7 separate regions of the Homo sapiens genome follow, and all the other regions are linked to region 1. The links are contacts of gene promoters, found by promoter capture Hi-C in blood cells and fetal thymus (Javierre and others, 2016). All regions are on one chromosome and are shown on one strand. The core of a region is centred on a gene start or on the middle of the fragment in contact, and the rest is flanking DNA. Distances in the headings are between cores, read along the strand shown.

Region 1 (3,236 bases), core at 1-2,500:
CATGCATTTCTAGAGGAAGAAATGGTGATATGGAGAGAAAGCTTGTCCTAACCCACTTCTACCAAAGTAGGATTAAAGTCAATTTGAAAAAAAACACCCGTTTCTCCTTTTATATAAAAACCAAATGCAGAAACTATAGAGAAATGTAATAAGCTTGACTCTACACAAATACCAAAATACACTGTAAACAAAATTAAAGGTAACTGACAAATTGAGGAAATATTTGCAACGTATATCACAAGCCAAGTTTTCAAGCATCAAAAGTCCTTACAAAACCCATTTTTACAAAGATGAATGTCAAGTTTTAAAATGGACAAAAGACAGGAAAATGCAAATCACACAATAAGGACAAATGGCACTCAAGATATGGGAAAAAGTCTATTCTTCCTACTAAAAAGGAAGTGAATACAATTAAAGATGCCAATTTTTGACAATAAAATGGGCAAAAAAATTTTAAGAAAAAAGAGAATTTCCAATGCGGGCCAAGTATCGGGACACTTACTGGAAGGCAGTTTCCCTCTACCTTTAGAAAGCCTCAAAGTGAGCATATGCTTTGGCCCTGCAACCTCGCTTGTAGGAATTTATCCTAAGGAAACAGTCAGGGGTGACCTCAAAGATTCATCTGCAAGGATATTCAACATGGCTTTGATGCAGGAAAAAAAGTAAATAAATAAAAGGAAACAATGTAAGTCTTCCTAAATTATGCCAAATTCCTATGCTGTCATTAAAAAACATCTATAACTCCATCATCTAGGTGATTTTGACTTTTGCTTTGGACTTGCCTGTACATTTCTAAATTCTCTATGCCAAACATGCATTGTTTTGTCATCAGATTTTGTTTTACAAAAAAAAAAAAAAAATCGTCTTTATGACAAGGGGTTAATAGGGGAACTGTGCTTCCCAGGAATTGACCAGGCGTCTACACCCACCTACTGACTCAAGTTACCTAAGACTGACAGAGCCTTAAGAGGTCAGGAGAGCGCCAGAGCGCGTGACAGGCTCCCTCGTCTCGGTGCGGCCACGCGGGAAGGCAGGGTCCCGGGCGCCGAACAGGGACGGCAGGAGGATCGTTTACAGACGTCTACACAAGAAACTCACTTCCCGTCACCGAAGACAAACGCGAGGCCACACTGACCTCCAGGCCCAAGACGCCCCTCCCCGCCGCGGCTCCTGCTGCCCGAGTGCGCATGCGCGCGCCCAGCCCCCGCAGGCCGGCGCTTCCCAGGAGGCCCCGCGCGCGGGTTTCCATGGGGACGCGCCGGCGCTGCGGCGTTGGCGCAGTCGTGGGAACAGCGCGGAGCAGGTAACGGCCCCGCTGCTGCCGTCGTCCCCCTCAGCCGGTTACCCTGTTACAGCCCCAGCTCTGGGCCCTTCCGGACCCTCCTGCTACGCTCTTTCTGGGCTTCCAGTATCGCCGGTCACTCAGTCCTCGCCCCTGCCTGCCTCGCTGGCGCCCCGCCGTTTCCTCCTCGCGGCACAGTTTGCCAAGGAACAGCTACCCCGGCTCGGCAGTGACCGGGCGCCCCGGCGACACACGTACTCTCAGGCCCGCTGGGCAGGGGGACGGCCTGGGCCGAGGTGACCTAGCGCTCCCGGGGCCGCGCCTGGGTCTGGCGAGGGGGCGGAGGCCGATCTCACCGCCGCCCCACCGAGGGAACTTTGGGGTTTTTCTATCTGAATCTTCTATCTGACCTCCGATTTTGCCTCTGCTTACTTGCTGTTTTGCTTTGGATTAGTTTTTCTTTCTAACCTTAGCGCTGGCATCTCCCTATCTCGTAGGAATCTAAATCTTTTGAAATGTCTTCTCTGTCTGTGTTTGTCCCCCACTCACCCAGCCTCGGGGCTCTTTATCCACACCCTCCCCTCAGCGTGTTAACGTTTCGTTGCCACACTTAAGCCAACGGTTAACTTTTTTCAGAGACCAGTTTTCACGGCTGAATGTGAGCTTGAGCCTTTTTTCTGTCTACACTCAATCCCTAGATGAACTCATCCAGTCGCCTGTACTCAGAGCCTATCTGAATTCCAGTGAGCCCCAAGTGTGCATTCCCAGCCCTCGCCCCTCCCCTGAACACCAGATCCCTGCATTTAGCTGCCTGCCACATCCCTACTTGGATGTCTACGGCATCTCAAACACAGCTCGTCCAAGATAGCGCTCAATAATTCCCCAAGCCAAGCCTGTCCTCCCACAATCTTAATCCATCATAGTTGCTGGAAATTCCATCCTCCAGTTGCCCGAGTCTTGCATCCTGTTTGAGTCCTGTTTTTCTCTTCCTCACCTTCAGTCTGTCAGCACTGCCTTCAAAATGCACCCAGAATAGATTCACAATTCTACCATTTCTCTCAACCGCCACTGTCACCACCTTGGTCCAGGCCCCCATCATCTGGTGCGTGGATTATTTTACTTGCTTCCTAATTGGTTTCCCTGAGTCTGCCCCTCCCCCACTTGAGCATGACAGTCTTAATGGTATTTCCCCGTTCTCTGTTATTTCGTATGAGTAAGTTTTTTAAAGGATTATATAAATTACAATTTCCTTATATAAATTACAACTTCCATAGGTAAAAGTGCAGTATTTTCAGTATGTATTTTGCAAATTGCAACTTTTAAACCGGGTCAGCAAGGCCATATAAGCATCCTGCTAACAAGCTAAAAATGTAAAGACACCCCTTAGCTTTGTTAGGTATAAATATGACAGTGCCCCTGGAACAGAACTATGGCAAGAGCTTTACAAGGGACTGTCCTGAAGAACAAAAGAACCCAGAGCCTTCTTCCCAGCGCAAAGACAGGAATCATGTAGGAGTTTAAGCTCTTCCTTTTTTATTTTTTAGAGAAGCACCAAAAGAGGCAAACTGAGATGCAGACAAATGATCATCCGTATGCTGATCATTTTGAATAGTAAGTACCTGGGTGCTGATACCGCGATCAATGTGACAGGTCCCTGCCCTCAAGGAGCTAAGGCCCCTAGCCAATCTCTCTTTTTTTGTTGTTTTTTTTTTTTTTAAGACAGAGCCTTACTCTGTCGGCCAGGCTGGAGTGCAGTGGCAAGATCTCGGCTCACTGCAACCTCCATCTCTGGGCTCAAGCAATTCTCCTGCCTCGGCCTGAGTAGCTGGGATTACAGGTGTACGCCACCATGCCCAGCTAATTTTTGTATTTTTAGTAGAGATGGGGTTTCACCATGTTGGCCAGGCTGGTCTCAAACTCCTGACCTCAGGTAATCTGCCTGCCTCGGCCTTCC
Region 2 (3,530 bases), core at 376-2,875, 670 kb after region 1:
AAAGGGATAATGGTATGGTTACATTGAAAGAATAGACAAATCTTTACCATTCAGCTGTGCAAAAGTTATTTATAAGACATAGAAGATATACGCTACATACCCTAGTAAATGTGATCGTATAAAATAAAGGAGAACAGGCTGGGCATGGTGGCTCACGCCTATAATCCCAGCACTTTGGGAGGCCAAGGTGGGCAGATCACCTGGGGTCAGGAGCTTGAGTCTATCCTGACCAAAATGGAGAAACCCTGTCTCTACTAAAAAAATACAAAATTAGCCGGGCATGGTAGTGCATGCCTGTAATCCCAGCTACTCGAGAGGCTGAGGCAGGAGAATCGCTTGAACCTGGGAGGCAGACATTGCAGTGAGCCGATATCGCACCATTGCACTCCAGCCTGGGCAACAAGAGCAAAACTCCATCTGAAAAAAATAAAAATAATAAATAATGAAGGAGAACAAACCAGATGCTGATAGAATTCAGAAAAGGGGTGTTCAGGGAAGTGTATCTTGGAGGAGGTGGATCTGCCATTGAAATGAAAGGGTAGGCAGGATTTCAACAGGCAGAAGAGTGAGATCAGATTGAGATTTCAGATGGAGAAAGGAGCATCAGCAAGGAGAGATATGCTGGTTTTCTACTGCTGCCAAAACAAATGAACAGACATTTGCTGGGTTAAAACAACACAAGATTATCTTACAGTTCTGGAGGTCAGAGGTCTAATACAGATCTTGCCAGGCTAAAATCTAGGTGTTGGCAGGGTTGCATTCCTTTCTGGAGGCTCCAGGTAGAAATGCATTTCTTGCCTTTTTCAGCTTCTAAGGCTGCCCATTCCTTGGCTTGTGGCCCCATCCTCCATCTTCAATGCCAGCAACGGTTGGTTGAGTCTTTCCTGCATCTCATCGATTTGACACTGACTCTTTCAGTTTCCCCCTTCCACATGTAAAGATCCTTGTGTTTACATGGGTTCCCACCTGGAGAATCTAGGATAATTGTATTAGGCCATTCTTGCATTGCTCTAAAGAAATACCTAAGCCTGGGTAATTTATAAAGAAAAGAGGTTTATTTGGCTCACGGTTCTGCAGGCTATGTAGGAAGCATAGTGACTGTATCTGGTTGGCTTCTGGGGAGGCCTCAGGAAGCTTCCAATCAGGGTGGAAGAAGATGGAGCAGGCATCTCATATGGTGAGAATGAGGGCAAGAGAGAGCAAGTAGGGGGAAGGTGCCACACACTTAAAAACCAGATCTCCTGAGAATTCACTCATTATCACAACAGCACCAAGCCATGAAGGATCCGCCCCCATGACCCAATCACCTCCCACCAGGCCCCATTTCCAACACTGGGGATTACAATTCAACATGAGATTTGACAGGGACATATATTCAAGCTGTATCAATGATCTCATCATTTCAAAGTCAGCCGATTAGCAACATTAAATCTATCTGCTACCTTAATTCCCCCTTGCTATGTAAGGAAATATATTTACAGGTTCCTAAGATTAAGATGTGGACATCTTTGGACAGCCATTATTCTGCCTTCTAGAAGAGGGAAGCATGAAGTAACAAGTTTACTTAGGTGTCCAGTACTGACTCCCCAAAAACATCACCCCAACAACCTGCTGGTCAGGCAAAGCTGAGTTTACTGCTTCCCATGGTAAGCAACACAACTATCTCAACAAAGTCTGCATAGTATTTTCTGTGAGTATGACAAAGTTGGGCTATTTGTAAGGTTTAGGGGGTTTGGCAGGTCTTTCAATGGGGAAAGAAGTTTGAATAGGATTAAGGATCATGATATAATGGTTCAGGATTGGTGAAGACAGCAAGGTGAGGGTTTTAAGGCAGGGTTCTCAGAAGTGTATTGGAGAGTAAATAATCCTTGATACTAGTTATTGAAGAGTTGAGTAGTTTGATAATCACTTAAATTAGTTTTTCTGGGAAGTTCCTGAAACAATACAATTAGTAACTTTTATTTCCTGGGCAACGATTTCTTAGAATAGTAAAGTCATATTAGAGAGGGCAACTTAATAGTGAAGTTCTGCCAACGCAGACAGGAAAGCATGTGGGTGTTGGTGGTTTCTGCTCGAGTGATAGACTGAGGCCATAGAAGGCTTTCGACCAAGCTTGTCCAACCCACAGCACACAGACCACATGTGGCCCAATACTTTTTTAAGATATTATGATATTTTTTTGTGTGACTATTTTTTTTTTAGCTCATCAGCCGTTGTTAGTGTTAATATATTTTACATGTGATCCAAGACAATTCTTCTTCTGATGTTGCCCAGGGAAGCCAAAAAGAGCTATATGCTATTTTAAGGAATTTGAATTTTATTTGGATGAAATGTACATAACCACTTGCATGAGAGGAAGACCCTGGCAGCAGGTTGGAATGGAGACAAGATTGGAGCCTGGAGGCTTATGAGGTGGATATTGAAATGGTTCAGGCAAGAGGAATTGAGGACTTCAACCAGAGAGAGATTGCAGCATTTACTGCTTATTTGCTCATTCATCCAGAAAATACTCTACCAGTTTCATCTGTGTGATGCACTGTCATCCACGCTGGGGTTCTTGGGGACCAATATGGGCAAGGATGTGTTTTGTGGCACTTAAGGAGAGCTCACACTACACACACATGAAGAATGACTGATTTCATGACTCTGTTGAAAGACCTTCTGAGTCCAAGACTCTGATTTTTTGGCAGGTTAAAGTCTCATCAGCTTCAAATTTGAAATTGTCTGCATTCATTTCTTCTGGCCATGGTAACAAATGACAACAAGCATAGTGGTTTAAAACAACACAAATATATGATCTTACAATTTTAGAGGTCAGAATTCCTAAAAGCAAGGTATCTGCAAGGCTGCATGCCTTCTGGAGGCTCCAGCAGAGAATTCATTTCTTTGCCCTTCCCAGCTTCTACAGGTACCTGCATCCTTTGGCTCAGGGCCCCCCTTCATCTTCAAGCAGTATAGCATCTTGAACTCTCTCTCCCCAACCTCTGCTTTCATTACCTCATCTCTCTCTTTGAGTCTGAGACTTGTCTCTCCCTTCTAAAGATGCTTGTGATTACATTTTGGGAACATCTGAATAATCTAGGATCATCTCCCCACCTCGAGGTCCTGCATTTAATCACATCTGCAAAGTCCCTTTGACCATGTAAGGCCACATATTTACAGGTTTCAGGGATTAGGACTTGGATACCCTTGGAGGGCCATTATTCCACCTACCACACCCTCCAAGACTGGCTCTTACTCTTCTTCCCCTCGAGCCCTTCTTGTCCATTCCCCAGTGGAAGTTTCTACTCCAACCAAGCTGGTTTTCTCGCCATCCTTCCCCACATTCATCCTGGCCTCTAGAATTCTCTCCTAATGTCCTAACTTCTCTCTTGACTCTTCTAAGTTCTTAGCATCTTTCAGGGCCCCTGGAAGCCCACTTCCTCTGGGAAGCCCTCCAGATTGGAGCTCATGTCTTCTTCTTCACAAGGTCCTTCCCATTCATTGTAACATGTAACAATATCCTGTTAACTTTTTAATGTGTCTATCTT
Region 3 (3,537 bases), core at 128-2,627, 720 kb after region 1:
TTAATAATATTAATCAAAATACGTTAACCTCAATAGGAAGATTCCAAAAGTTTCATCCAATCACGGTGTTAGACTCAAAGTTCAAGATCTCATGGTCTACATCAGGGCAAGATGTAACTCCTCTTCACTCCTTTCGAAGTAAAAGAACACATTGATTTCTCTCCTGTACACACACATTCAGAATAATATAGTAAAATGAGGACAGGATACTTATAGTAAGCACACCTAGGTAAAAGGGAGAAGAATGGGAGGCACATATTAGTCACTGGTCCATAGCAATTTTGAAATCTCACTTGGCAAATGTTGCCAGGCTCCCCTGCATTGATGACGTTGAGTGTTCTCTGATTAGCCCCAGGTTCAGGTCACTGAGTCTAGTTCCTCATTCTGTTGTTTGGCATAAGTCTTGGCTCTGTTCTCTGAGTTCCTCTCCCTTTTGTATCATCTCCTGGGGCACTTCTGAAAAAGATTTCAGAAAATGTGCTCTATTGGTGGCCCAGAAACTTTCCCAGTTGGCTTTCATTTTGAAGAACGTTGGGACTGTGATGGTTACTTTTGTGTGTTAAGTTAGCTAGACCATGGAATCCAGATATTTGGTCAATTTTTGGACGGGAATGATATTTAAACCAGTAGATTTTGAGTAATGCAGATGACCCTCTATAATGTGGGTGGGCCTCATCCAATCAGCTGAAGGCTGATAAAAGACTATTTCCTCTGGAGAAGAGAAAATTCTGTCTGTAAATTGCCTTTGGACTAGAGCTGCAACACTGACTCTTCCCTGGGTCACAAGCCTGCTGACCTTCCCTACAGATTTTGGACTTGCCAGCTTCCACAATTATATGATCCAATTCCTTAAAATTCCTTAAAATCAATCCTTCTCCATCCCTCCATATCTATCATCTCTCTCTCTCTCTATCATCTATCTATCTATCTGTCTATCTATCTATCTATCTATCTATCTATCTATCTGAACTCTTCAGAGTTCTGGAGAACTCAGATTTTGGACTTGCCAACTTCTACAATTATATGATCCAATTCCTTAAAATCAATCCTTCTCCATCCCCCATAGCTAGCTAGCTGTCTGTCTGTCTGTCTGTCTGTCTGTCTATCTATCTATCTATCTATCTATCTATCTATCTATCTATCTATCCATCTATCGAACTATTCAGAGTTCTGGAGAACTCAAATACAGGGGCCCAGGGATCCTTTTATATTTGGAACAGTTTCTGGCTCTCTCAGAAAAATTTGTGTATTTTATATATATTTGGTTTCCGTCTAGTCTATGTACCAAAAACCATATCCGTAATTCATTTAAAAATATTCCTTTCTCGATGTGCTTACTGGTATTATAGGTGGTGTATCAGACTGCTCTCACATCCCACCCTTAAGTTTTCTAAAAATCTTTTTGAACAATTGAAAGGATTACTAGACTCCACCTTAATTCTTATGAAGTTCTTAACAATGTATCTTGCAACTGTGTGTTTGATTTGGTCTTTACTCTGAGGTCAGGCCTTGCTGGAAGCACCCTGGGGTTGATTATTGCTCCCAGGCTGTATCCTAATTTGAAAATATTTTGCTGACTGGAAAGGCTGGAAATGAGAAACAGTTTTATTTTCTAACTCAGCACGTTCCAAATTCTTCATATTCCCTCCAAATTCTGCTTACAAACTGGCCAGTTCTTTTCTGAGCTCATCTCCTTTTTGAAGTCAAAAGCAACCAACCCACACTTTCAGTATTCTGCCTGGAGATGTCCATGCCTAGATTCATAAGTTAATTGGGTACATTTTCTATTTCAGACTCCTTAACATGAATCATTACTGTTCAGCATCCTCAAGTTATTTTCTCTCATCATCTTCTCAGCCTCTTTAGGTTTCTCTACTTCCTTCCACTGGTCCCCAAACCAATTCAACATATCTTGGGTTTTTGTTAGAGTAGCACTCCACTTCTGGTACCAATTTCTGTTCTGGTTTCTTATGGCCATAGTAATGCTGTGTAAGACACAACCGCACAAGCTCAGTGGCATACAACAGTAGGCATTTATGTAATTCATGCATCTGGGAGTCAGCAGGGGGTCAGCTAATCTAGGTTGGGTTGATTAATCCGGGTCTGCTGATTTTGGTAGGTTTGCTCACACATCTGGAGGTCAGCCAGCATTTGGCTGATGTATAGTGGGTTCAGCTGGACTGGTTCAACTCTGCCTATGTCTCTTATCCTCCTGTTAGAAGCAAGAGTCCAACCTGGTAGTCTAGTCTCATGTCCATGGCAGAGCAAAATAATTTGAGTGGAAACCCATGAAGCCTCTTAATCCTAGGCTTAGAATTGGCACATCCTCAATCGCCTCATTCCACTGGCTGAGGCAAGGCACATGGACAAACTTAAAGTCAAGGAATAGGAAAATACACTCTATCCTTCATGGGAGGATGGGAGGGTGAAGAATGAATATTTCCAATCAATAATCTAACCTATCCACTCCCCGATTATTCTAATGAGGCCATGTTTCCATAACAAACTTCTTCAGAATCTACAGCTGAAAGGTCCCCGTGTGGTTTTGAGTTAGAGCTAGCCCAAAGGGAAATTTGAGTGAGATTTTAAAAGCAGACGTGAAGCCGTGGCCGTTGCTGTCTGGAGGCCTTTTGATCAGCCAGATGTGGTGGTGGGTAGATGTAGCGGTCGCTCGGGGTTTTCAGCGGGCGTCCTCTGTCCTCTCTTCTGCCGAGCCCGTGATGCTGACTGCTGGTCTTCCTAGGTGTTTGGCTGTAGACCCTAAGAGGTGACACAGTGTCAGCGGCAACCCCCTTCCTGCCCTCTACCTCTGTGGCCTCATTTGGCAGCAAGGTGTGTTTGGCTTCTCAAAGTGACTGGCTGGTATCGCCACCAAGGATCCTCTCCTCGCACCCCCTGCCCCTGAGACTTTGGCTTCTTCAGCTCCCTCCACAACTATACAAGGTCTAATTTCTACAATAAAAGTTTTTTTCTCATAACACTCACAGTGACTCTGCTCCCCTGCTCAAGGGGCACCTGGCTGACACAGGCCCTGAGGCTGCCACAGCCCCATGTTCCCACCACCTCCAGGGCTCAGCCAGGAGCCCTGTGTCTGCAGCTACCTCCTGAGCTCAGCAGCTCAATGCCAAACTCTTTCATGCTTCTGGTGTTTCTGCAGACAACTCACGCATCAAAGCTTGTCTACCCAAGCCCCTTTCCCCAGGCTACTGCTCTCTGCTTCCCACAGTTTATCTAATCAAGATGATAAAAGATGGTGGACTAATTTTGTATTTTTAGTAGACGGGGTTTCTTCATGTTGGTCAGGCTCCCGACCTCAGGTGATCCACTCGTCTCGGCCTCCCAAAGTGCTGGGATTATAGGCGTGAAGCAAAATTAGCCAGGTGTGGTGGTGCATGCCTGTAATCCCAGCTACTCAGAAGGCTGAGGCAGGAGAATTGCTTGAACCTGGGAGGCAGAGGCTGTGGTAAGCCGAGATTGCGCCATTGCATTCCACCCTGGGCAGCAACAGTAAAACCCCGTCTGAAAAAAAAAAAACAA
Region 4 (3,343 bases), core at 838-3,337, 700 kb after region 1:
AGCACCTAATTTAATTATAAGATTGTAACGCTTTTCTGTGAAAGGCTTGCTTGCACGTTGGGAATGCTGGGATTCAGTGTTTTGGGGAGGGGGGAGGAGTGCTTGTTCACTCTGTCAAGAGTGAGCAGGGGCCGGATGCAGTGGCTCACACCTGTAATCCCAGCACTTTGGGAGGCCGAGGCAGGTGGATCATGAGGTCAGGAGATCGAGACCATCCTGGCTAACACGGTAAAACCCCGTCTCTACTAAAAATACAAAAAAAAATTAGCCGGGCATGGTGGTGGGCACCTGTAGTCCCAGCTACCCGGGAGGTTGAGGCAGGAGAATGGCGTGAACCCGGGACGCAGAGCTTGCAGTGAGCCGAGATCACGCCACTGCACTCCAGCCTGGACGACAGAGCGAGACTCCGTCTCAAAAAAAAAAAAAAAAAAAAAAAAAAGTGAGTAGGAAAAATGCCCGAACACTTAGCTGCCTCAGTTGTTCAGGTCTTTGCGAAGTTTGCAATGTGAGAGGGCCAGACCCAGACAGGTGCTGTGAAGGACCACAGCCCTGTCCCGGGATGCGTCCGGTCGTAAGCTGCAGACGCACACTCCGAGGGCTGGGATCGTCCTCTGTTGCCAGGAAGCAGCTTCACTTCAAAAGCCATTTACTTTTGCACAAATAATAATAAATCAACTGACCTATAACCCTGCAATGAATTCAGGAAATGTGTGTTCCCACTAAACAATTAGTGTCCTGGAGTGACATATCGAGCAGTTACTTTTGCAACAGCTTTTAAAGACATTATACTATACGCAGAATAAGAAAGAAGGAAAAGGAATTACGTTTTTTTTTACCGTAGTGGGGAAAAGACGGATCTTTTTGCAGTGGGAGGGTTTTAGCTTATAGGAAATTCACTCTCAAGAGCAGCTTCCAGCCTTTGAGATGCCCAGGTATGCAGGAAGCTCAAGCCAGCTTGGCTCAGTGGCTCCAGCGTGCCTCTGGTCAGTTCCTCATGCAAAAGGAGCCGCTTTGGATTGGCCCAAGAATGGGGCTGCGGGCATGCAGAGCACACCGGGCTTCTGAGAGAAGGGAGGAAGGTATCTGGTAGATCCCTCCCATGGCATGTCCAGTGTGTGCATGAAAAGCGTGATTTGGGGCTGGGCGTGGTGGCTCATGCCTGTCATCTCAGCACTTTGGGAGGACGAGGAGGATGGATCACGATGTCAGGAGTTCAAGACCAGCCCAGCCAGTATGGTGAAACCCCGTCTCTACCGAAAACACAAAAATTAGCCAGGTGTGGTAGCACGCACCTGTGATCCCAGCTACTCAGGAGGCTGAGGCAGGAGAATCACTTGAACCCAGGAGGCAGAGGTTGCGGTGAGCCGACATCGCGCCACTGCACTCCAGCCTGGGAGACACAGTGAGACTCCGTCTCAAGAAAAAAAAAAAAAGCATGATTTCAGAACAAAAAGCAAAGAAGGAAGACCAGGAGAAAGAAAAATGCCAACATTTTAACTGGTGGGATTCCCAATAGTTGTTTTCTTCTCTGAATTTTCTAATCTGAAAATAATTTTTAATAATTATGGCCATGCATCATTGTGTAGGTGAGTGTGTGTGGAAGAGACAGAGAATGAGAGAATGAGAGAGAGAGACAGAGACAGACAGAGAGAGAGACAGAGACAGACAGAGAGAGAGACAGAGACAGAGAGAGACAGAGAGACAGAGAGAGAGACAGAGACAGAGAGAGACAGAGAGAGAGACAGAGAGAGACAGAGAGAGAGAGAGAGAGAAAGAGAGAGAGAGAATGAGAGAGAGAGAGAATGAGAGAGAGAATGAGAGAGAGAGAGAATGAGAGAGAGAGAATGAGAAAGAGAGACAGAGAGAGAGAATGAGAGAGACAGAGAGAGAGTGAGAGAGAGAGACAGAGAGAGAGAGAATGAGAGAGATAGAGAGAGAATGAGAGAGAGAGAGAGAGACAGAGAGAGAGAATGAGAGAGAGAGAGACAGAGAAACAAAGCAAGATGGCTATCTTGACTGATGATGACGATGACATTTTTAGTTTAAATAAATTTTAGAGGACACAAGTTCCCTACAAGAAAAAAGTACCAAATATAATAATGAATTCTAGGTTCTTCCATATTAGGTAAAGAACCTGTACACATCATAGTTTTGTTGTCATTTTTTCCTGAAGCAGCATTCCTTAGAAGCATTCCTAAGGGGTCTGTTCTTTAGCAAGAGTCCAAAGATGTGTTCCATGAAAAAAATATGAGAAGTTTGGAAAATAATCACCTGCTGGTGACTCCTTCATTTATTTATTAATAAGTATTTGTTAATAATTGAGATCTCACTATGCTTGAGACACCATTCAAGACATGCAATATTTAAGATACAATCTCTGCCTTCCTAGTACTTATATAGTACTCTAGATAGAGACGAGAAAGCAGACCAGCAGAGTCCAGGGACATGGGACCAACATAGCTGCCATGATGATCCAGAGACTCCTGCCCTGCAGTTGCCGATTAAGGTCTGAGAAGTCCTATAGTCAAGAGACCTACTTAATTTCTATAAACTCCATATTGCCAAACCTTTATGTAATAAGTTTTGATACCTCTCAAAACTTCTGCAGTCTACACTTGTGGAAACACTATCGTTTCATAAACCCAGCAATTCAATGTAAATTTATCATTGGCTTCCCTAAAGTAATTGCTTGGGAGCTCTTGTGCTTGGAGAGTTTGGAAACACATTAGTCTTTTGCAGAAACGAGTTAGGGCAGCTGGGGAAGATGACCCTGTTTTCCCTCCCTTCTCTACTTCTTCCTCAAATGACTGGTATCTCGAATTTGCATAACGGAGGCCAAAAGGTTTTGTGCTACAATAAAAGATAAGACTTGAAGAACAAGTCCCAGATATGACCAGGAGCATGCTTGAGAGTCAGCGACATGCAAGCGAATGATATGAGAAGTAGCTTGAGGGTGGATCTTTGTCCAGGGAGGAGAAGGGTTGAGGGGCTCTTGGAACCTAGATATTTGCAGTGGAAGCAGCACTGGGCTCCTTGGCAGATGACTGCTCTTTGTACTCAGGATAAAACCCACATTTGCTGCCCAGCATCTGAGGCCCTGCCTACCTTGGGGATGTTGTAATGTTTTTCTTCCCCCTTAGTTCCAGCCACACTAAGGTTTTGAGCCTGAGATCACCAGGCTCCCTGAGTCCTTGGCCTGTACCCTCACCTGCAATGTTGGTTTCCTCAACCCCTCAGATCTCTTACTTAATGCCCCTTCCCTTTAAGGTGCCCCTTCACTTAATTTAAGGGCACCTCCCTTCCTGCTATCTTTTTATTTGTGTGCTCTCTTGTTTCCTGTTTC
Region 5 (3,714 bases), core at 684-3,183, 950 kb after region 1:
ACTGCACTCCAGCCTGGGCGACAGCAAGATTCCGTCCCAAAAAAAAAAAAAAAAAAAAAAAAGATGTGCCTTGTCCTATCAAGAGCCAAAGATTTTTTTAAAACACTTTACATTAAATAGTCAGAGATTACCAGGCTTGGATGCTATGATGCCATTTGAAACATCAAGAATTATTCTCTTTGAAGACAACAGGAATCAATCAAACATTTTGTCATTAGAAATGAGGAGGAGTTTCCTTTGTAAAATTTTGGAACAGAATTTACCACTCAGTATCCCCAAATTAACTTTTTATTAGATCACTTTTTATGTTTGTATGCATTTCCAAAATTAGACGCAGTAAAACTTATGGATCGAATATTGATCAAATAATAGCATCTGTTTTTCTCTTTTTTAGTATCCAATAAATAAATTTGTCTCTTATAAAACAATATTTTTATTAGTTAGAAAATGATGGATATATGCATGCATGTATGTTATACATAAATAAATATGGGAGAGAGAGACAGAGATTGAGAGAGAGAGAGCATGTGTGAGAGAAAGCAGAGAAAATGATGTACATTGGCACCAGTAGACAATCAGAGTTAACCAGGCAAAGGGTATTAGGAGTTTGGTGTATTATCTTGTGGCTTTTCTGTAAGTTGGAAATTATTTCAAAATAGAGAGGTAAGAAATCCCACTCTTCACAGTTTGATTTGCATTAGGCAAGAACCAGGGAGTTAAGGCCAAATCATCACTGAAGCATTAGGTCCCAGTAGAAATGCTGATCTTTCCTGCTGCAGGGAACAACTGAGGGCTGGATTAGCAACCACGAGGCGTGGGTGAGGCGGGACCACACAGGATTTTCTTCCGTGGCTATTTCATTAGCAAAGCGTTCATCTTATTTAAAGCTGGTGTTTGGTAAAGGCATAATCAGGTGCCATGTGTTGTGGAGGCCACAGTTAACATTTTACATTGATGCTTCTTAGGAGAGAACAAAAAGCAAGGACACTCAGGGAAGCTGAGAGAGCTTTTCTCCTCCGCACTCCAGAATTCTAGTGGAAGCTGCCCAGATAAAACAGCTCAGGACTTTGAAATTTTCGGGGAAACAGAATTTTAATCAGCCTGCCATCTTATTCATTGTTCAGAGATGAAAAGAGCGGAAATCAACACCCCCTCATAATGTAGGTGCTGAGAACTTAGGTTCTGATTTCCACAGAATGATTTTCTTACAATATACTCTCTTTCTTTTCTTTTCCTTCTTTCTTTCCCTCCCTCCCTCCCTTTCTCCTTCCTTCCTCCCTCCTTCCTCCCATCCTCCTTCCTTTCTCTCTCTCTTCTGTCCTTCCTTTCTCCTTCTCCATTTTTTCTCGCCCTCTTCCCTCCCTCCTCCTCCTCCTCTCCTTCCTCTCCCTTTCCCCCCTTATCTTTCTCCTTCTCCTCCTTCTTTTGTCCTAACATGAGGTGATAAATCAGAGGTATATAATAAAAGCCAGAATGACCTGGGCTGGTGGACAGAACTCTGACACATGCCGGCCTAAAGTCTGAGTGAAATCCATTTACTGAACGTCCAGCTCTGCAACCAGGAATTGTCAGATGACTCAGGATTTAGTCTATTGTGTTCTTGGGGTCGCCTATTGAGACCACACCTCTTTATGGGTCCTGCGTTCCTGTAGCTAGATTCAAAGCAAAATGTTTCTTCCAAGCAATTTCCTGAAAATGAGTAATTAAAGTCCTGAAACCCTCTAAGGAATGTTCAGGCCTGCATTCGCTGTACTTCCTTCGAGGAGAAAACAGACCTGTGACCCTGAACTTATAGCTTGGATTTTAGACATGTAATGGGGCCCTCACATGGCATCTCTGGGTAGCCAAAAGTTCTATGAGGATCTGTTGTCTGCAACATGGATGTCTGTCAGAGTGAGACCAGCTCACTGATATTCCGGGACATTTGTAGTCACTTCAGTTATTTGGGTTTTAATAAATACTTGAAAACAAGACTTAGGAAGGTTTATTTTTCCTCTTTATTTTTTGTGTTTACTGTAAGCCTAGAGTCCTTGCGTTTTCAACAACTTTGTTGTAGAGCAAATAAAAAGTGCAGGTATTTGGAAGGAGAAAATGAAACTGTTCTGGAACACTTATATGAAATGTTGAATAAATATAGGTTGTTAAAAATCAGCCAGGCAATGGCTGTTACTGAACATGGCCATCTATTAACATGAAATAAACTCCACCTGCAAAGTTTCCTTTTAGGAGAAAGGAGCTCAAGTCCTCTGTCCTAGTAATTCTGCGAAGAATTGGGCTGCGAAGGGCTGACACCCAGGGCAGTGGGGTGCCCTCAACGCCTTGGCTCCAAGGTGCTTGCAGCCCGTGTGAAGCCATGCGGAGTCCCATCACATCTGCATCCTGCCTTGGTCTCAGTGCAGTGTGTCACACGGCGGCACACCGGTCACACCTGCTGTGGCAGTCCCCATCCCAATTGATGCCTTTTCTTTTTTTAATTAAAAAAAAAAAATCTCCTGGCTGCATATCATCAAGAAAAACAACATTGTTTTCAGGGTCTCTTATCTCTCCACTCCCAAATATCCTGTTTCTTTGGGCTGGACAGCCAGGACCAATAGAAACCTCTTCCTGCCATTGGCTGACTTCATTTCCCAGACTTAGCACAATCTCATCCGCTCTAAACAACCTCATCAAAACTACTTTCTGGTCAGAGAGAAGCAATAATTATTATTAACATTTATTAACGATCAATAAACTTGATCGCATTATGGCCAGCACTATTAAGGTAAGGAAAGGGTTCCTTTTAATTTGACAAAATCTTGTTCTTGTTACTCTTTTCTTTGGTTTCCTTTATCAAGGCAGATAAGTTAGGGTTGGGCAACACCCCCACTGCCACAATAGAGGACAACAAGATTTCCTTTGCACTGCCTAGTAAATTTCCTTTTTCCTACTCCAACCATCCGCAAGGCTTAAAAACTTCAAACTCAGAAAAAAATTGGGGTTTCTAAATTCACTGTTGAGTGCTGTGGATTACTTTTGGAAAGGCTTTTCGGAGCGCTTCTGAATTTTCAGATTCTCTAACTATCCCTAACGGTGCCTGGATGTGTGTCTGAGAAAAGGCAGCAGACTCGGAGAGGTTGAAGGGTCGGGTCAAAGCAAAAGATGCGTTTGTGAATGTCAGACATTTGGAGGCTCTTCAGTGGCTCCTTAGCATCAGGGATGCCAGGCAGTCCCAGTGGAAGCGAAGAGATACTCGGCAAGTGGCTGCTGGTAATGGGACGCAAATGTTGACTTGATTTGTGGGACATCCACGCTGAGAACTGAGTGCTCACGTAACTCAAATGGGGGTAATTTGGTTTGTTCCACTATATGTTTATCTTCAATAAAATACCTACTGTCTGTGCACTGTGAGTAAGATTTCTTCCAGCAATGGTTAGGTTTGCGGAGATTGGAAAGCAATGGCCGGTCGGTTCTCTGTGCTGTGGGGTGTTTGGTCTGATGCATTTCCTTGCCTAAGTTTTTAGTAGATAGCATGTAGAGATTAATGTGGAGGTAAATCTGCACAGGTACAATCCTAAATATGGCCTGATTCCTGGAAATGAAGCCAATTTAATGGTGACTACAAGTCAAGGGGCATGCAGTCTTGAATGGGGGTCCGTTCAGTTGTTTTAAAGGCCACCATGCCTTCGTGACATTTGTAGAAATGTGAAAAATCAGCAACAAAAGCAGATGCTGAGT
Region 6 (3,254 bases), core at 178-2,677, 630 kb after region 1:
TCCACTTAAGTTAATATATTAAATACACAAATCTGAAAATAACAGAATCTTACAATGGTGTCGAGAGGAGCCTCAGAGACCCCTTTACCAAACACCTGACCCTCCTGTTACATTGAGAAAAATTCAACTAGGCTGTGTGTGTAAGAAAAATGACCCTTGACAAGGCCGTCTGAGCACAATGCAGTTAAAAGGCAAATGACCCGATAAACACTGAAAAATCAAACAATGAAATACACTACTTTATCTTTGGAAGCATTTATTTTGAAATGTTTGCCATGAAACAATTTAACTGAAACTAGAGATGCTTTTCCACATCAATTCCAATGGTTTGGAAAATAGTAATACATGACAAAATTCCTTAACGTTTCATTTTATAACAAGTAAAGTGTCTTAAAAATGAACCCCCTCCCCGCCCCCAGGCCAGGCGGGGTGGCTTATGCCTGTAACCCCAGTGCTTTATGAGGTTGAGGCCAGAGGATCACTTGAGCCCAGGAGTTCAAGTCTGCGGTGAACTACGATCAAGCCACTGTACTCCCGCCTGGGCAACAGAGAAGGACCCTGTTGCTTAAAACCAAAAACGAAAAAACAAATAAAACAAAACAAAAAAAACCCAAATCACCTACTAAGGGGAAAGATTTCCAAAGGAAATAGGTTTAAAGTTAAACTAAACTATCTGCAGAAAAGAAGAGACACACAGAAAGATAAAACCTTACACTAACTCGATTTCTGAGCATCTTACATAACATTTATGAAAGAAATACCTTTTAATGTAAGACTCATTTGAAAGTAACCGATAATATCTGGATTCATCATCGCCTAAATTGTTGAGGAACACGTGAAGAAAGACTATATTTTTCCAACATAAGCTGGAAATCCCATGTTATGTGTAATACAATGACCCATCTGTTGAGTCATCAATAAGAAAATGTGTAACACATTTACAAATAAAATCGGTTACCCGCTTTCTTTTTAGAAATGCAGAACAATGAATGACGCATTACAAAAGAGGGCAGGCAGAGGCTGGAGCCCAGCCCAAAAAAATCCAAGTCAATGATGACCAACTGCCTGAGATCTACGAGGAAAACCGATCAATCAGGCAAGTGCAAATTACTCATCTGGATTTACAAACTACTTTAGAGCAGAGCTAATTTTGGTGAAACCTCCAATAAACTTTTAAAGTTCCCACAAGCATTGCCCAGGTGACTAAGAAATGCCTTTCCTAACCGTAAATTCTTTTTTTTTTTTTTTAAAGCCAGGAAGCCAAAAGACAATACAAATCTGTGCTTCCTATTTCAACACATCAATTTCAGCAACGACTGCTTCTTTTCAGAAACCGCATAAGCATCGTCAAATTATTTGAATTAATAGAAGGATTTTTCTAAGGGGTGTGGTTTCAACTTAATACCATGATTTCTTGTACCACTTCTGCCATGCTTAAAATGTCCGGCCAAATCAAACAAGCAGACTCACTAGGCTGAAGTTTGATGACCTTTAGAATACTGCAGAAAGGACTGTGCTGAGTTTTGCCTCTTTGGGTCATATCAGACAAATAACCTCAATAATGATATACAAAGGAAAATGTAATATGCCAGAGACGTACATCATCATTATGCAAGACGCTAAACTTTGAGGAGGCCAATTTTAAAATCATGCTTCTGAAACATGTTTACTACATAATACTGAAAACAATCAAATCTTGCTGTCATATTTGGAGAAGACAAGTGGGAGATTACCAGTTTGTGCTACTAAAGAATGTTCCCAAAAGGAATGATGATAGAAGCTACATAAAATGTTTATGCAGCAGAGAGGGCGCTTTCATTTTTCATCTGGTTTTTGGTTTAACATAAGTAGGCCTGCTTGTTCTCTGAGCCAGTAACAGGCTACCTACAATTCCACGGGCGCTGCCCTTTCTGATAGGAGCTGTAGCGGTTGGGTCTGTCTGCCTCTTCTCTCTCATTTCAGTTCTTAAACAGCTTCCCATCAACCAAGGAAACTCCTGGGTAGACAGAAAAGGCAGTAGAGACAGCCTCTCCAGCTGTTTTATTGGGAGTTATAGGATTTTCACCTGGAAGGAGCCTCAGAAAACAAGCTATAAAGGCCTTTGGTTTCATATCGTGGAGGAGAAGAACAACACACATCAAGATACCCATTCTGCAGACCAGAAAACTGAGGACCAGAGCAAGTAAGCAAATAGTCTATAGTCACATGGCCAATAAATTAAGAAGCTAGGGCTACAACCAGTTTTCTGGGACCCAGGCCTTTTTTTTCTTTCCTCCTAGAGATCGAGTTTTCCAATTAAAAAAAAAAATTAAGACTTGCCCACTCACCTTGAGTGTCCCTCTGTAACTGTTAGCCACAGGGGCTACCTGGTCCATATTCTTGATTCCGAAATCATTCATCTTAAAAAAGAAAAAAAAAAAGTCAAAGAGGCAAAAGATTAAGTACACTAAACTCATCATTGGTGGCATCAAGACTTGATCCTGGCTGAGTTCTACAGCTAACAGGTAATTCAAAAGTGAATGCAGGGAATTCTTGTTTAAATGGCTGTCCTCCCAAAGGTCTCAAGAGGAAAGCATTTCTCAGTATCACAATGGGATATGCTGTTTCAGTGATTGAATAATAATGCTGATTCCTCACTGAATTCCACTTAGATGTCACAGAAAAAGTCACTTGCTGGCTGGCTGGTCAGAGCCTCCTTGCTGGGTTAGCAGGGCAAGAGGGCCTGGGTCAGGCTTTTCATTCACATTTCCATGGCCAGCTTAGGTGAGTGCTTGGGTGGGTACAGTGGGGCAGTGGGCCGCCTCCTGTCTGCTCTGGACACAATCAGCTTAACCTGAGAGCTTCAGGACAGCTGCAGGGGTCATTTCTAGAGACAGGAAAGGAGTCCAGGAAGCCCCCTCTCTTCCCTTCCACTCTCCAGGCTGTAAGAAAGCACACACCCAGGGAAGGGATCAAAGGGAGAACTGAAGACCAAACCCCCTTACATGGTCCCAGATCTTCCTGCTTTGAATACAGAGCTCAAAATATTTCTGCTTTGTGTGTTGCTTGGCTGTGCACTTCTTCAAGAGGAACTGATTCCAAGCACGGATCTGCCTTACTTCCTCTGACTGAGTCTTAATCTTCTACTAGGCCTGGGCTAAGCAATATGGTACCCACTTGCCATGTGTGGCTACAGAGCTCTCAACCAGTGGCTAGTACAAATCCACACATACACACTAGCTCTCAAAGACTTAGTGGAAAAAAGAAAAAAGCTC
Region 7 (3,334 bases), core at 9-2,508, 680 kb after region 1:
ATCAAGAATGAGAGACCATACAGGAGATCGAGACCATCCTAGCTAACACGGTGAAACCCGTCTCTACTAAAAATACAAAAAATTAGCCGGGCGTGGTGGTGGGCGCCTGTAGTCCCAGCTACTCAGGAGGCTGAGGCAGGAGAATGGCGTGAACCCGGGAGGCGGAGCTCGCAGTGAGCGAGATCGCGCCACTGCACTCCAGCCTGGGCGACAGAGCAAGACTCTGTCTCAAAAGAAAAAAAAAAAAAGTGAGAGACCATAAAAAAGCAACATTTGGAAAATAACAAGCACTGGGCAAGCTTGGGGAAAGTCACATGATAGCCAAAATGAAAGACCCAGTACAAGGATTAGAAGGCATGGCTGGAAAATTGTATTAGAAAATAGAGCAAAGTGAAAAGAGAGAAGAAAAGGGAGAGAATGTATGAAATTGGAGGCCCAGACCAGGAAATGCAGCTTCCAGATGAATTCCAGGAGGAGAGAACAGAGAAGCTGGTAAGTCTTTAAAATACAATTCAAGAAACTTTTCCAGAAATGAATAACACCAGCTTGCAGGTCTAAAGGGCCTAGTACAAGAGATAAAAATAGACCTACACGAAGCCTCGTTGCTGTGCAATTTCAGAGCAGTGAGGACAGGAAGAAGATTTTACAAGCTTCCAGGGAGAAGAAAAAAGGCAACACATGAAGACTCAGGACTCAGAATGGCTGTAGCTTTCCCTGCAGCCGCTCTGGGAATGACAAGAGGATGGGGCTTTCTGCAGGAAGGTGGTTTTCGACCTGGGCTTCTACACCTATAGAAACTATCAATCCAGTGCACAGGCAGAATAAAGGCATTTTCGGAAATGTTGAGGTGTCAATTAGAAGTTACAGGTTAGGCCAGGCGTGGTGGCCCACACCTGTAATCCCAGTTCTTTGGGAGACTGAGGTGGGAGAATTGCTTGAGGCCAGGAGTTCAAGACCAGCCTGGGCAACATAGCAAGACCCCATCTCTATTAGAAAAATAAATAAAATTAGCTGTGTGAGGTGGTGCATGCCTGTAGTCCCAGCTACTCGCGAGGCTGAGGTGGGAGGATCACCTGAGCCCAGGAGTTTGAGGCTGCAGTGAGCTGTGTTCATGCCACTGCAATCCTGCCTGAGCGACAGAGCGAGACCTTGTCTCCAAAAAAAAAAGTAACAGGTTAAATATTCATCTTGCAACAAGGATTGATCTTGAAAACTATCCAAAAGGAAAAGAGTCAAATCATGACGAGATAAATAGCATGAGTTACGTAAATTAAAAGCGTTTACGTGAAACACAGTAGGCACTTTGCAGATGGTTGGCAAACATATCCCCCTGGAGTGAAAGAAGGAGAAAGGGAGAGGGAAGATGATGAAAATAGGAGGGAAAGTGAGGAGGAATGAGAGGAGCAGGGAGTGAGCAGGTGGCCTGTGTGCCTTCTACCAAAATCATCACAGAATATGAGGTCAGCTTTGCAGAATCCGAAGAACTTTCATCGAAATAGCAAAAGCCCCATTCTGCCCTCAGAGAACTTACCTTAATGTATTAGTGTGCTAGGGCTTCCATAATAAAGTACCATAGGGTAGGCGGCTTCAACAACATTTATTTTCTCCGTCCTGGAAGCTAGAAGTCTGGGATCCAGGTGTGAGCAGGGTTCGTTCCTTCTGAGCCTCCCTCCTTGGCTTACAGACGGCCGCCTTCTCCCTGTGTCCTTACATGGTCATGTCTGTGTTCTAATCTCCTCTTCCTGTTAGGACACCAGTCAGATCGGATTAGGGCCCACGCTAATGACTTCACTGCATCTTAATTATCTCTTGAAAGACTATCTCTGAATAAAGACATGCTTTGAAGTACTGGGGGTTAAAGCTTCAACAGATGAGCTTGGGGGGAACACAGTTCAGCCCCTTCCAAACAGGTGGATAGACAGCTGTCAGAGATTGGGTTTCCTCATCTCTAACATGTACACGAGAACACCACCTAGCTCTCAGAGGTGTCTGAGAATCAGGTGAGAGCCAGCTGGAAAGGGCACGTGAGAGAGCACTGCCAGCAGCGAAGCACCCAACAGGCCTCAATTCTTATTTCTGCAGGTCGAAGCCCAGATCTCCAACTCAGACCTCCATTTGATGCATTGTTTGATCTTATTAAAGCTGTAAGTTCCCAGAACCATTTCCCACTTTGCAGCAAAAGCCACGTTAGCAGAGTCTTATCGTAACATGCCTGTCCATGATGCCATTTCATGATTTGTTGTTTTGAACGGATTGAGCTGAATCATTCGGATTGGCACTGTTTTCTCTTTCTGGGTCTGACTGGAGAGTCTGGCCAGGGTCTAATCAGTTGAATTCCGGTTAAGAAAGGACCTAGTCTCTTCTCCCTACAACTCTTCTTAAGATGCTTTTATCCCAAGAAAAATGGGCTTTTTATTTAATATAAACAGAAGCACACGTGAAAGTTTGAGCCTTTTTGCAAGTGTGAAACAAAGACTTCTATTTTTATCTTTTGCCAAACTTGACATTTTGTTGTGAGCCCTGGAAGGGGCTCCTTTTTTCAGAAGGGAGAGGCCCTCCCTGCCTGGTCTCCACAGCCTCTCAGGGAATGTGGTGTTTAATGATGAGTTATTAGATAGTCAGAGGCATTTGCGGAGCTGTATGGGAGTGCCAGATCGCCCTCTGATAATAAATTGAGCTAAAGTCTGTTGGCATCGCAGACAGGGCTGTGTTTAAGTGAAAATCTGAAACCTGACCAAGAATATGGAGCTAAAGTTTGAGGCCTCAGCCTCCAATGTCATTTTTCTGAACGACATCCAGCAGATATCGGATAAGCAGAAATGCCATTAGGAAAGCCCCAGGAACTACTCGCTGAGTAGACAGAAGATGCCTAAAGGCAGAAGGGATCTCCAGAGAGTTCAAGAAACTTCCAGGAATGGCTGGTTGGCCACATGAAATTAATGGAGACATCATGAAAAGATTTTCTTTGGTTTAACAAAATTGTGTCAGTCATGCATAGCTGTGTTCAGCTTTGGGGGTGCACAAAGGTGAGATAGACGTCACCACTGTTGTCAGGGGTTTACAGATGTGCGTGTGTGTGTGCATGTGTGTGTGTGGGAAGAGTGTCAGGAGGAAAGGACAGCAGAGGGATTTCTTTTGATCATAATACAAGGTAAGGTGGAAGGTATAATTCAGTTTAATATGGTTTTTCTCCCCACTCCCATCCCCTTTCCTGGTCAGTCTTTATTTTTCTTCAGGGCACAACCCATGTTCTGTTACATTATACATTCATTTGCTTATCATGTTGGTGGTTTCTTGCCCCAGCCAGACTGTACCAGGTACAGATGTTTCTTTA

The links. Contacts are between HindIII fragments. The CHiCAGO score rates a contact against its expected background, and 5 or more counts as called.
Region 2: a contact is called between a fragment that was not itself captured here and the fragment with the promoter of LCA5L in region 1, in 2 of 17 cell types (total CD8 T cells and non-activated CD4 T cells). The highest score is 8.1, in total CD8 T cells.
Region 3: a fragment that was not itself captured here is called in contact with the fragment with the promoter of LCA5L in region 1 in 1 of 17 cell types (naive CD4 T cells); the score reaches 5.0 in naive CD4 T cells.
Region 4: a fragment that was not itself captured here is called in contact with the fragment with the promoter of LCA5L in region 1 in 2 of 17 cell types (naive CD4 T cells and total CD8 T cells); the score reaches 7.2 in naive CD4 T cells.
Region 5: a fragment that was not itself captured here is called in contact with the fragment with the promoter of LCA5L in region 1 in 1 of 17 cell types (fetal thymus); the score reaches 5.5 in fetal thymus.
Region 6: a contact is called between a fragment that was not itself captured here and the fragment with the promoter of LCA5L in region 1, in 3 of 17 cell types (naive CD8 T cells, total CD8 T cells and activated CD4 T cells). The highest score is 5.9, in naive CD8 T cells.
Region 7: a contact is called between a fragment that was not itself captured here and the fragment with the promoter of LCA5L in region 1, in 5 of 17 cell types (non-activated CD4 T cells, naive CD4 T cells, total CD8 T cells and 2 more). The highest score is 7.4, in non-activated CD4 T cells.

The regions. Positions count from the first base shown.
Region 1 is chr21:39,443,792-39,447,027 of GRCh38, reverse strand. LCA5L (lebercilin LCA5 like) reads left to right here and starts at 1,250. Exons shown (of 11, transcript NM_152505.4): 1 at 1,250-1,303; 2 at 2,827-2,893. The region is part of intron 8 of GET1-SH3BGR (GET1-SH3BGR readthrough); the gene reads right to left. It overlaps MIR6508 (microRNA 6508), which reads right to left and starts at 18; the gene lies at 1-18. It also overlaps a transcript of SH3BGR not described here. RefSeq lists a silencer at 1,080-1,339. The HindIII fragment of the contact is 3,319 bases long and covers 156-3,236 here.
Region 2 is chr21:38,776,262-38,779,791 of GRCh38, reverse strand. No RefSeq gene overlaps it. Among named protein-coding and RNA genes, the nearest start is that of LINC00114, 4.6 kb to the right of the region's middle. The HindIII fragment of the contact is 978 bases long and covers 1,137-2,114 here.
Region 3 is chr21:38,722,156-38,725,692 of GRCh38, reverse strand. No RefSeq gene overlaps it. Among named protein-coding and RNA genes, the nearest start is that of LINC00114, 50 kb to the left of the region's middle. The HindIII fragment of the contact is 3,600 bases long and covers 1-3,177 here.
Region 4 is chr21:38,741,617-38,744,959 of GRCh38, reverse strand. All of the region lies in intron 3 of LINC00114 (long intergenic non-protein coding RNA 114), which reads left to right. Among named protein-coding and RNA genes, the nearest start is that of LINC00114, 30 kb to the left of the region's middle. The HindIII fragment of the contact is 6,104 bases long and covers 1-3,343 here.
Region 5 is chr21:38,497,410-38,501,123 of GRCh38, reverse strand. ERG (ETS transcription factor ERG) reads left to right here and starts at 2,647. Exons shown (of 10, transcript NM_182918.4): 1 at 2,647-2,761. The coding sequence starts at 2,744. The HindIII fragment of the contact is 7,853 bases long and covers 1-3,714 here.
Region 6 is chr21:38,809,180-38,812,433 of GRCh38, reverse strand. It overlaps ETS2 (ETS proto-oncogene 2, transcription factor), which reads right to left. Exons shown (of 10, transcript NM_005239.6): 2 at 2,328-2,399. The coding sequence starts at 2,399. Among named protein-coding and RNA genes, the nearest start is that of ETS2, 4.9 kb to the right of the region's middle. RefSeq lists an enhancer at 322-1,521. The HindIII fragment of the contact is 6,932 bases long and covers 1-3,254 here.
Region 7 is chr21:38,759,013-38,762,346 of GRCh38, reverse strand. All of the region lies in intron 1 of LINC00114 (long intergenic non-protein coding RNA 114), which reads left to right. Among named protein-coding and RNA genes, the nearest start is that of LINC00114, 13 kb to the left of the region's middle. The HindIII fragment of the contact is 1,211 bases long and covers 653-1,863 here.